3 separate regions of the Homo sapiens genome follow, and all the other regions are linked to region 1. The links are contacts of gene promoters, found by promoter capture Hi-C in blood cells and fetal thymus (Javierre and others, 2016). All regions are on one chromosome and are shown on one strand. Each heading gives the region's core, a stretch centred on a gene start or on the middle of the fragment in contact. The rest is flanking DNA. Distances are from core to core; before and after follow the strand shown.

Region 1 (3,619 bases), core at 761-3,260:
GGGCCGGGGATGGCCTCATGGAAAACGCTTCCATAAATGGGCATGTTTGCCTCAATCTCTGCCCTCCCACGGAAAAGTAATGATAACAAATCCATAACAGATACCTTGTACGGAATAACACATCTATTTCGGACATGATAATAAAAAAACATGGTGTTTACAAGGCAAGCCTGGCGGCTTCTCGGAAAAGACCCAGCTAGTTCACGTTCTGGACTCTCGGCATGGCAGCCCACCTAGGGTCACTGGTTTCAGCTAGGTCACCCCCTCAATCAGGGGACAAACAGTGCCTTTTATTTTAAATGTGCAAAAAGTCAGTTTATGTTTTCTTCAAAGGACACGGTGATAAACATTTACTTTGTTGGAAGCATTTAGTCCCACCAGAAACCTGACCCCAACAAGTTTGTGTCCATGGTAAAGAAGAAAGATAGTGGGGTCAAGGGTATGAACTTGGACTCAAACTGACCCGGGAATGGGTTCTACCACTTGCTGGCTGTGTGACACTTTACCTCTCTGAGCCTCAGCTGCCTTGTATACTAAACAGGCATCATAAAGCCTTTCTTATGAAGTTGTTGCAAAGATTAAATGAGATAAATTAAGTTAAATGTTGCAACAGCATGTGGCACTGAAGTGTTCCATCAACGGTAGCTATCTCAAAGGGAAAACATCAATTTCCTTCAAACAAAATTCTCTATCTTATTTCACACCCTGCCACCTAATGACTTTCAGTTCAGCGTCAAGTTCCGTCTCTGAACAATTCTAAAATAGTATCGTTGAGTAAATCAAAGAAACAAAAAACTATGCAAAGCAGTTTATTAATAGCCTGCATTCTTTTTGCCAAACCCCGGACGGACAGTTCACCATTTAATCTCTCAGTTCTTCATACTGCAACTAAACACTCCCACCTTGGGTTTCTAAATATTTTCTTTTACTTCTTGACAAGCATGGCTTTGGATGGTACCTTTTCTCAAGTGGCAAAATCCCTACCAGACCCTGTGCTGGAAGAAAACTTACAACAGGCAGTAGCCACACTTTCTCTCGTTTTACCCATTTGGTTGGGCACGAGAGTGGCATTGACACAGGTGGCTCTGCGGGAAATTCTAGTGTAATCTTACCTAACGCACCTGCAGATCGTGGAAGCAAATGGAGACTTTGGAGCCCACCTGGGTATCTGGGGGCCCTTTGGGGTCAACCTGGGTGAGTTGTTTTTTTTTTTTTTAATTTGGAGAAGAGGAAAAAGTGGGCTGTAACAAACTAGATCACAACCAGCCTTATCTCCCAGGGGTTCTCAACATAGAAGAACCTCCCCTAAACTGATTAAAAAAAAAAAACAACAACACTCCTTTCTGCTAAGCCTATGCCCATGTGTTTTTAACTGATTTAATGCATTATCAACACAACTGTGCAATACGGTCAAATCCACAAGGAGCCTCACTTTGCCCTTCTGTGTGATAGCAAGTGACTTTTCAGTGAAGTTCAGCTGTAAATTTTTTGGTGCCTAGAATAAAAGTGAGATGCCTTGATTGTCTGCACCGGACCTCTGAGATTTCCAAGGGAGCATATCTCCTGGATTAGCCTCTTAACAAGAATCACTCGGGACTAATTTTTTTTTTTTTAAGGCAGTTTTTCTGGGGATTCTAGAGTTGGGAAATGGAGTTGGGTCCAGGCATTGATATCGTTAATAAGCACCCCCAAAATGGTACTTCTCACTGGCAATCTTAAGAAATGCTGTTTGGGGAAAGTCTAGGATAATCTAAGACGATAAGGCAGAGAGAGATCCAAATCACAACTCTGCCCCCACCATGGCCCTTACGAGGTTGACAACAGGGACCCCTAAGTGCACCCCAGCCCCTATAGAATACCCTATAGGACTTTTAACACCCCCCTGCCCTGCAATCTGCCCCCAGAATGACAACTACTACTTACAGATCTCCAACTGGGGGGACTAGTGGAGAGGAAACTGGATGGCGAGCTCGGATCTGACGCACCTCCCAGGCCGGAGCGTCCAAATCTCCCTGCGCGTCCTCGGACGCCTCTCTTTATAGACCCGGAGCTGCCCGCGGCTGGGAAAGGGGAGGAGGCCGAAGGGGTGGAGTTGGGGAGGGTCCCTCGCGGCCCCCTCGCCGCGCCCCCTGCAGGGCGCACCCCCGGCGGGAGCGCAAGGAGCTGGGGCGCTCGGGACAAGGGTGCACGGAACAGGTGCGCACCGCACAAGGGCGCACGGAACAGGTGCGCACAGGGACGGGAGTCTCAGCCCCGGCCCCAGGCGGTCGCAGACGCTCCGGATCCCTAGAGAAAGGGGGTCGAGCAGGCAGTGTCTGTGCGGGATGCTTGAGAACGTCTTCCCTGAGTCGGTTCCGGCCGCAAAGGCTTTAACCTCTTCCTCCCCGTGTCGGGGCTGTGGTGGATCTGACTTGACATCTCCCACCCCACTTCCCATTTTATTGGCATCGCACTGTCTGGAAAGAGGGCCGGCTGTGCAGCGTGAAGGGTAGGGAAAGGGGATTTCTTGAACTTTGCAAAGTGCAAGACAGGAGGCCCCCACCCTTGCTGGGAACCGTGCAGGAAGGGGAAGTTTTTACTTTTCCCAACTTGCCATCTCCACCTCCACCCACATCACCACGACCAAAATACAAATAAAAATTAAAAATAAGCCCACTGTGATTATTTCAGCTGTCCCCCTCCCCTGTGCGCCACTCGCCAGCTGCGTGACCTTGGGCAAGTCACTTCACTTCTCTGAGACTTGGTGTCCATAGCTACAAAATGGGGGAAGGCGGTGGCGGTGATAATTACGTTATTTACAAGATGCAAGTGTCAAGATCCAAGGAGAAAGTGGGTGTGCCCCCAGAGTCTGCGAGTTCCCTTCAACAACTTCCCTTCCCCAAGGATTCCTCGCCTAAAATTGCATTCCCTGTCTCTCTCCATCACAGGCTCTCTCGCTCTGTCTCTGCCACTGTCTCTGCATGTCTGTCACTCTGATCATTGCTGTCTCTCGCTCTATCTTTTGTCTCTGTCCCTCTCGCTTCTCTAGATCTGTCGATGTATCTGTCTCTCCCTCCTGTCTCACTTTGTCTCTGGTCTCTGTGTCTCTTGCTCTCCATCTCTCCCGCGTGTCTCACTCCTATCTCTGCGCTTTCTCTCTCTCTCTTCCCCAGGCTCTCCGTCTTCTCCCCGTCCCTCCCTCCCCGCTCCTGTCCACGCACGCACACACAGGCCATAAAAGGAAGTCGAGGCGGTGGGCTGGCCCCGCGCCAGGCCGGGGACCCGCGGGCAGCCCGGGCGCTCCGCTCCCCGCGCGGCACCAGCTCCTCCGAGGTTCCCGGGCCGGGCCGGGCCGGGCCGGTCCCCCTCCCCGGGAGCGGCGGGAGCGGCGGGCGGGAGACAACCCAAAAAGGGCAGGCGCGGACTCCTTCCTGCAGGAATTCCCAGCGCCGCATACCAGCTCTGGGCTGCCGGCTCCCCCTGACTAAATATGGTGCCGAGTGGCCTTCCTGCTCCCCGGCGTCGGGGGAGGGGGCCCTTCACGCAGCCACCGGCCGCCGTTGCCCCGCGGGGCTAGATGGGGACCCCTCTGCTTGGGGAAGGCCCGGAAGGGGGCAGCCCCCAGTCCCACGTGGGTTTC
Region 2 (3,619 bases), core at 735-3,234, 55 kb before region 1:
AGGTGCTGAATTATGCTTGTTAGATGGATGGATTGAGGGATGGATGAGTAGATGGATGGGAAGATGAGTGGACGGAAGGAAGGAAGAAAGGAAGGAAGGGTAGATGGGTGAATGGAAGGGTGGGTAGATGGGTAGGTAGATGGATGGGTGGGTGGGTGGATGAATAGACAGATGGACGGGAGGGTGGATAAGCAGATGAGTAGGTGAGTAGGTGGGTGGGTGGATGGGCAGATGGGTGGGAAAATGGATGGATAGATGAGTAGATGGATGGGAGGATGGAAGAAGAGGTGGATGGGCAAGTGAGTGGAAGGAAGGAAGAAAGGAAAGAAGGAAGGAAGAAAGGATGGGTGGATGGAAGAATGGATGGATAGGTAAATGGACGGGAGGATAAATGGATGGGAGGCTGGGTGAATAGGCAGACAGATGGCTGGATGGAAGGATGGATAGATGGACAGGTAGAGAGACAGGAAGACAAATGGATGAGTGGGTGGGTGGGTAGGTGGACGAATAGATGGATGGAAAGAAGGAAGGATGGATGGATAGATAGGAAGAAAGAAAGAAGAAAGGAGGGAAGGGTGTGTAGATGGGTAGATGGGTGGGTATATAGCTGGTTGGACGGATGGTTGGACGGAGGAGGGAAGGATGAGTGAGTGGATGAGAGAGTGGATGGGTGGGTGAATGGGAGGGAGGACAGAGTGTATAGGCCGGTAAATGAGTTGGATGGATGGATGGATGGATGGATGGATGGATGGATGGATGGATGGGAATATGAATGGGAGGATGGATGGGACTGAAGAAGGCAAGGTGAAAGAGATGACTCTTTCTTCCATCTGTAATCTTAAGAGAGAACTGATTGGATGTGGGCACGTTCCTCAGATTCTATGCCCAACTCCAATCAGTTCTCTCTCTCTTCCCTCGGATTATAGATGGATGTTTGGGTGGCCTGGTTGAACGAAATCCTCAAGACAAAAGGCCTAAAGACTAGTCAGCTCTGGGGTTTCAATTCTGGTGTGTTTATATAATGGCACATTTAAAAATAGGCAGGCCGGGCGCAGTGGCTCATGCCTGTAATCTCACCACTTTGGGAGGCCAAGGAGGGTGGATCACTTGAGTTCAGGAGTTCCAGACCAGCCTGGCTAACATGGTGAAACCCCATCTCCACTAAAAATACAAAAATTAGTTGGGTGTCATGGCACACGCTTGTAATCCCAGCTACTCAGAAGGCTGAGGCAGGAAAATTGCTTGAACTCAGGAGGCGGACGTTGCAGTGAGCCGAGATCGTGCCACTGCATGCCAGGCTGGGCAACAGAGCAAGACTCTGTTTCAAAAACAAATAAGATATAAATACATAAATAAAATAGGCAGCCATTGAAAAGAACCAGGCAGAGCTTTGTGGATGGACACAGAAAAATATCCAAAATATATTAAGCTAAAAATAAAAGATGAGGTAGCATAGTGTTATACCTTTTGTGTTTTAAAAAGACAGATATATAGGTAGGATGCAGTGGTTCATGCCTGTAATCTCAACACTTTGGGAGGCTGAGATGGGAGGATCACTTGAGGCCAGGAGTTCCAGACCAGCCTGGACAACATAGCAAGACCCAGTCTCTACAAAAAAAAATTTTTTTTTAATTAGCTATGTGTGATAGACATACCCCTTGTCCCAGCTACTTGGGAGGCTGAGACAGTAGGATCCCTTGAGCCAAGGAGTTCAAGGTTGCAGTGAGCTGTGATTACACCACTGCACTCCAGCCTGGGCAATGGAGTGAGACCCTATCTCTAAAAACAGACCTGGGATGGGTGCGGTGGCTCACACTTGTAATCCCAGCACTTCGGAAGGCTGAGGCGGGCAGATCACTTGAGGTCAGGAGTTCAAGACCAGCCTGGCCAACATGGTGAAACGCTGTCTCTACTAAAAATACAAAAATTAGCTGGGCATGGTAGCATGCACCTGTAATCCAAGGTACTCCGGAGGCTGAGGCAGGAGAATCACTTCAACCCAGGAGGTGGAGGTTGCAGTGAGGTGAGATCATGCCACTACACTCCAGCCTGGGCAACAGAGCGAGACTCCAAAAACAAAACAAAACAAACAAAAAAAACCAACAAACAGGCCTGAGCCTGAAGTATTGAGAAAAGGGACAGGAGGAAGACCTACTTTCACCCATTCTACTTCTATCCTGGTTATGTTTGTGCTATGAACACATACAATCTTTTCCTCATCCCACCAAAAATGGTCAATAGAAAAAGAGTCGGTATTGTTCTTTATGAAACCATCATGACCACAAAGCTAAAAAAAGACAGAAAAGAAAGAGCCACCGCATTAGGATCCCACTAACAGCTCCGATCTCCCGAGCACTCACTGCACTGCAGGCGTATGCTGAACTTCTGTGTTGAAGTGACCCACTGAATTCTCTCAGCAGCTCCTGGGGTGGGCACTGGCATTGCCTCCATTTTACAAATAAGGAGAGTGAGGTTCAGAAGTGAGGCAACTTGCCCAAGGTCACTAGGGTGGGTTGAACTGTGACTCCCAAAAGCTATGTTCACTCAGAACCTCAGACTGCGATGTTATTGACTAACCAATTGATTGAGATGGGGTCTCACTTTGTCGCCCAGGTGGGTGTACAGTGGCGTGATCTCAGCTCACTGCAACCTCAACCTCCCAGGCTCAAGCAATCCTCCCTCTTCGGCCTCCCCTGTAGCTGGGACTATAGGCACATGCCAGCATGCCCGGCTAATTTTTGTATTTTTTGTAGAGATTGGGTCTTGCTATGTTGCCCAGGCTGGTTTCACACTCTTGGGCTCAAGTGACCCACCTGCCTCAGCCTCCCAAAGTGCTGGGATTACAGGCGTGAGCCACTGTATCCCACCTGTGATTTTATTTAGAATAAGGGTCTTGCAGATGTAATTAAGGGAAGGATGTTGAGATGAGGTCATCCTGGCTTGGAGTGAGACCTAAATCAATGGTGTCCCTATTTATAAGAGAAAGGAGGCCGGGCGTGGTGGCTCACACCTGTAATCCCAGCACGTGGGTGGATCACCTGAGGTCAGGAGTTCGAGACCAGCCTGGGCAACATGGTGAAACCCATCTCTACTAAAAATACAAAAAATTAGCCAGGCATGGCGGCAGGCACCTGTAGTCCCAGCTACTCGGGAGGCTAAGGCAGGAGAATCACTTGAACCCAGGAGGTGGAGGTTGCAGTGAGTTGAGATTTTGCCACTGCACTCCAGCCTGGGCAACAGAGCAAGACCCCATCTCAAAGAAAAAAAAAGCAGGAAAAAAGCAATCAAACTTTAATCTCTCCATTATACTCTGGAGACAGACAGATACCCGTGCCTTTAGCTTCCACCCAGGGGGAGAAATTCACTCGAGGACAGAGCAAAATGGGAAACCAGTTTAATTTTTTTTTTTTTTCTGAAATGGAGTCTCGCTCTGTCACCCAGGCTGGAGTGCAGTGGCTCGATCTTGGCTCACTGCAACCTCTGCCTCCTGGTTTCAAGCAATTCTTCCACCTCGGCCCCCCGAGTAGCTGGGACTACAGGTGCGTGCCACCACGCCTGGCTAATTTTTCTATTTTTTGTAGAGACGGGGTTTCACCATGTTGGCCAGGCTGGTCTCGAA
Region 3 (3,619 bases), core at 821-3,320, 39 kb before region 1:
TAGCTATAGAGAAAGCCAGGGCAGATCAGAAGGCTATAGTAGAGATCACATTCAAGGAGATGATATCAATATGATATCCAATACATGTCTGGACATATTAAAAGGAGATTAACACATTTAGAAAGAGATTTTGGGGCAGAATTGGTGGTTAAATACATGGAAAACAAGATTGGGGAAAAAAAAGGCAATTGCTAACTCCAGGAAAAAGAAAAGTCATACAGAAAGAAGAAAAATAGTCACAAAGCAGTGCAAAGCTCAGCTTTGAATAACATCTACATAATCATAATAATGTAAACTCTAGATAGCATTACATAGTCATAATAATGGAAACTCTGAACACTGAGTTTGTCAAAACTAAGATAAAATTATACTGGGACTCTGATATGAGGCATGTGTGTTGGAACGAGGAAATAGGGGCAAATCCAGAGGGTGAATGAGCTAAATTTCATCTTTCATGGAGGAAAGTCAATAGATGATACCTAAAATTGAAAACAAAATTAAGATAGCAGCACAATGATCAAGTGTTGTTTTCAGAGATATGGTGGTAAATACCAAAAAAAAAAAAAATCAATTAAAGGAGTTGAGAAGTAGCAGAGGATGGCTATTTTTCTTAATAAGCCTTCAAAAATTACTTGACTCTAAGCCGTCTGCATGAATACTTTTAACAAAAATAAAAACCAATTTTTTAAAAAAGGGAACAAGGAATTCCTACATGCACTGATATGTAACATCCTCTGGCAAAATATAGGACTGTATATATATGGAATGCTAGTATTTGTAGGGAAATCTTAGGGAAGAAAATAGATACCTATTTGCTTATACTTGCAAAAATATCTCTAGGAGAAAACCTCATACACTAGAAACCATAATTGTCTCTTGGGAGGGAAGCTAAGGGTCTAATGCACAAGGGTTGAAGGGAGAAGTTCACCTTTTGAATTTGTATGTAACATCTTTCCAAAAACAAACCACGGCCGGGCGCAGTGGCTCATGCCTGTAATCTCAGCACTTTGGGAGGTTGAGGCGGGCAGATCACCTGAGGTCAGGAGTTTGAAACCAGCCTGGCCAACATGGCAAAACCCCATCTCTACTAAAAATACAAAAATTAGCCAGGCATGGTGGTGTGTGCCTGTAGTCCCAGCTACTCAGGAGGCTGAGGCACAAGAATTGCTTGAACCCAGGAGACAGAGGTTGCAGTGAGCAGAAATCATACCACTGAGCTGAGATCGTGCTGCTGCACTCCAGCCTGGGTGGCAGGGCGAGACTCTGCCTCAAAAAAAAAGGGGGGGAGAATTTAAAAAATAAACATGACATAATTTATGCATATGCAGATATAAGATACATATTTTAAATATCAGCTTCTCTTCCCATACCCTCAAGGGGCTTGGCTTCCACTTGGGAGGGTGCCATGTTGTGAAGTATCTCTTAGAAAGTCCCTCCCATTTTCCCAACTCCTGTGAGGCAGCAAAGGGCTGAGCTCTGGCTCTGAGCTCCCTGCCACAGTATACTAGTCAACCCCTCTAAACCAGCTCCTGCCACACTCATCATACCCATTCTCACCCCTACATTTATGCTTTTATTATTCTTGGCTAGAAAGCCATCCCTGCCCCCTTCTCTCACCTTAGCAAACCATTCTTCGAGGCTTATAAAGCCCCACCTCTCTCAAATAACCCACCCCATCCATCCTGACCCTGGTAGGTTCTTTTCTATAAATAACTCTAATAATTCATTGATTCAACAAATACTGAGCAGCTACTATGTGCCAGGCACCAGAAAATGTGCTGGAGATACAATGATGCACATGCAAGAAGGATGGAGTTTATAGGTCCTCAGGAACTTACTGTCTATGTGACACAACTGCAATGCTTCATCTTATATTCAGTGCATGTGTGTTACCCATCCCTCCTCAATCCCGCCTTTTCACACCCCATCTTTTCCATGAAGAACTCAAGGAAGAAGCCACATGTGCTAGCTTTCTCTCTCCACCTTCATGGTAAGCTTAGTGTGGATCGCAGCCCAGTGACTTAACAGAATGAGATCGTGCCATTTATCAATGGAGTCAACACACTGGGCCTACGTGTTTCTTCACAAAAACCAATTTCCTACTTGGGAATGGAGAAAAAATTAAGCAGGTGAACGGAATTCTTCCCAAGCTTAAATTTTTCTCCATTATTTTTGACATTCTTTTTATTTTTTATTTATTTATTTATTTTGAGATGGAGTCTCGCTTTGTTGCCCAGGCTAGAGTGCAGTGGCGTGATCTCGGCTCACTGCAAGCTCCGCCTCTTGGGTTCACACCATTCTCCTGCCTCAGCACCCCCTGAGTAGCTGGGACTACAGGCGCCTGCCACTGTGCCTGGCTAGTTTTTTTTGTATTTTTAGTAGAGACGGAGATTCACCACGTTAGCCAGGATGGTCTCGATCTCCTGATCTCATGATCCCCCCACCTTGGCCTCCCAAAGTGCTGGGATTACAGGCGTTAGCCACCGTGCCCGATTCTTTTTATTTTTGGAGTCCGCCATCAATGATTTGCCAGAAAGCACCAGGTCATGCCAAAATAGACGAGGGCATAGCAGGTGTTGGTTAACATTTAAATTAAGTAAAGAGTTTATCTTTTATGGATGTGCATATTCACGGTTTTCATTTTCTTTCTTTCTTTCGTGACAGGGTCTTACTCTGTTGCCAAGGCTGGAGTACCATAGCACGATCATAGCACACTGCATTCTTGAAGTCCTGGGCTCAAGCCATCCTCCTGCCTCAGCCTCCAGAGTAGCTAGGACTACAGACTCACGCACTGTGGCCAGCTAATTATTTTTTTGTAGAGACAAGAGCTCACTATGTTGGCCAGGCTGGTCTCTAACTCCTGGCCTCAAGTGATCCTCCTGCCTTGGCCTCCCAAAGTGCTAGGACTGAAGACATGCTGCTGTGCTCAATCATGATAGTCATTTCCTATTGGAGCTTACTATGTGTCAAGTGAGCATTTCTAAGTAGTTTCAAGAGAGCTGACTATGCAATTTTGTGTTAAAACCTAGAGACCATGAGGAATCAAATATATGAACACAGGGTGTCCTTGTCAATTACAACATTGCCTCACAGTTAAGAGGTGGTCTAGCGCAGGCATCTCAAACCACCGACTGGTACTGCACAGCAGGAGGTGAGTAGTGGGCTTCATCTGTATTTACAGCCACTCCCTATCACTCCAATTACTGCCTGAGCTCTGCTTCCTCTCAGATCAGAGGCGGCATTAGACTCTTATAGAACCACCAACCCTACTGTGAACTGCACATAAGAGGGATCCAGGCTGTGTGCTCCTTATGAGAATCTAATGCCTGATGATCTGTCACTGTCTCCCATCACCCCCAGATGGGACCGTCTAGTTGCAGGAAAACAAGCTCAGGGCTCCCACTGATTCTACATGATGGTGAGTTGTATAATGATTTCATTATATATGACAATGTAATCATAGAAATAAAGTGCACAATAAATGTAATGCGCTCGAATCATCCCGAACCATCTCTCCCCTGCGGTCCATGGAAAAACTGACTTCTATGAAACTGGTCCCTGGTGTCAAAAAGGTTGGGGACTGCTGGTCTAGGAAAGCAAAAGTCCCCACAACACAAAA

Evidence for each region. The method cuts DNA at HindIII sites, captures the fragments that hold promoters and counts their contacts. A CHiCAGO score of 5 or more calls a contact.
Region 2: a fragment that was not itself captured here is called in contact with the fragment with the promoter of MYH11 in region 1 in 2 of 17 cell types (megakaryocytes and endothelial precursors); the score reaches 6.6 in megakaryocytes.
Region 3: a contact is called between a fragment that was not itself captured here and the fragment with the promoter of MYH11 in region 1, in 2 of 17 cell types (endothelial precursors and megakaryocytes). The highest score is 6.5, in endothelial precursors.

What each region holds. Positions count from the first base shown.
Region 1 is chr16:15,855,018-15,858,636 of GRCh38, forward strand. MYH11 (myosin heavy chain 11) reads right to left here and starts at 2,011. Exons shown (of 41, transcript NM_002474.3): 1 at 1,924-2,011. RefSeq lists an enhancer at 3,057-3,558. The HindIII fragment of the contact is 5,018 bases long and covers 1-3,619 here.
Region 2 is chr16:15,799,881-15,803,499 of GRCh38, forward strand. All of the region lies in intron 3 of MYH11 (myosin heavy chain 11), which reads right to left. Among named protein-coding and RNA genes, the nearest start is that of MYH11, 55 kb to the right of the region's middle. The HindIII fragment of the contact is 4,109 bases long and covers 1-3,619 here.
Region 3 is chr16:15,816,241-15,819,859 of GRCh38, forward strand. All of the region lies in intron 3 of MYH11 (myosin heavy chain 11), which reads right to left. Among named protein-coding and RNA genes, the nearest start is that of MYH11, 39 kb to the right of the region's middle. The HindIII fragment of the contact is 155 bases long and covers 1,994-2,148 here.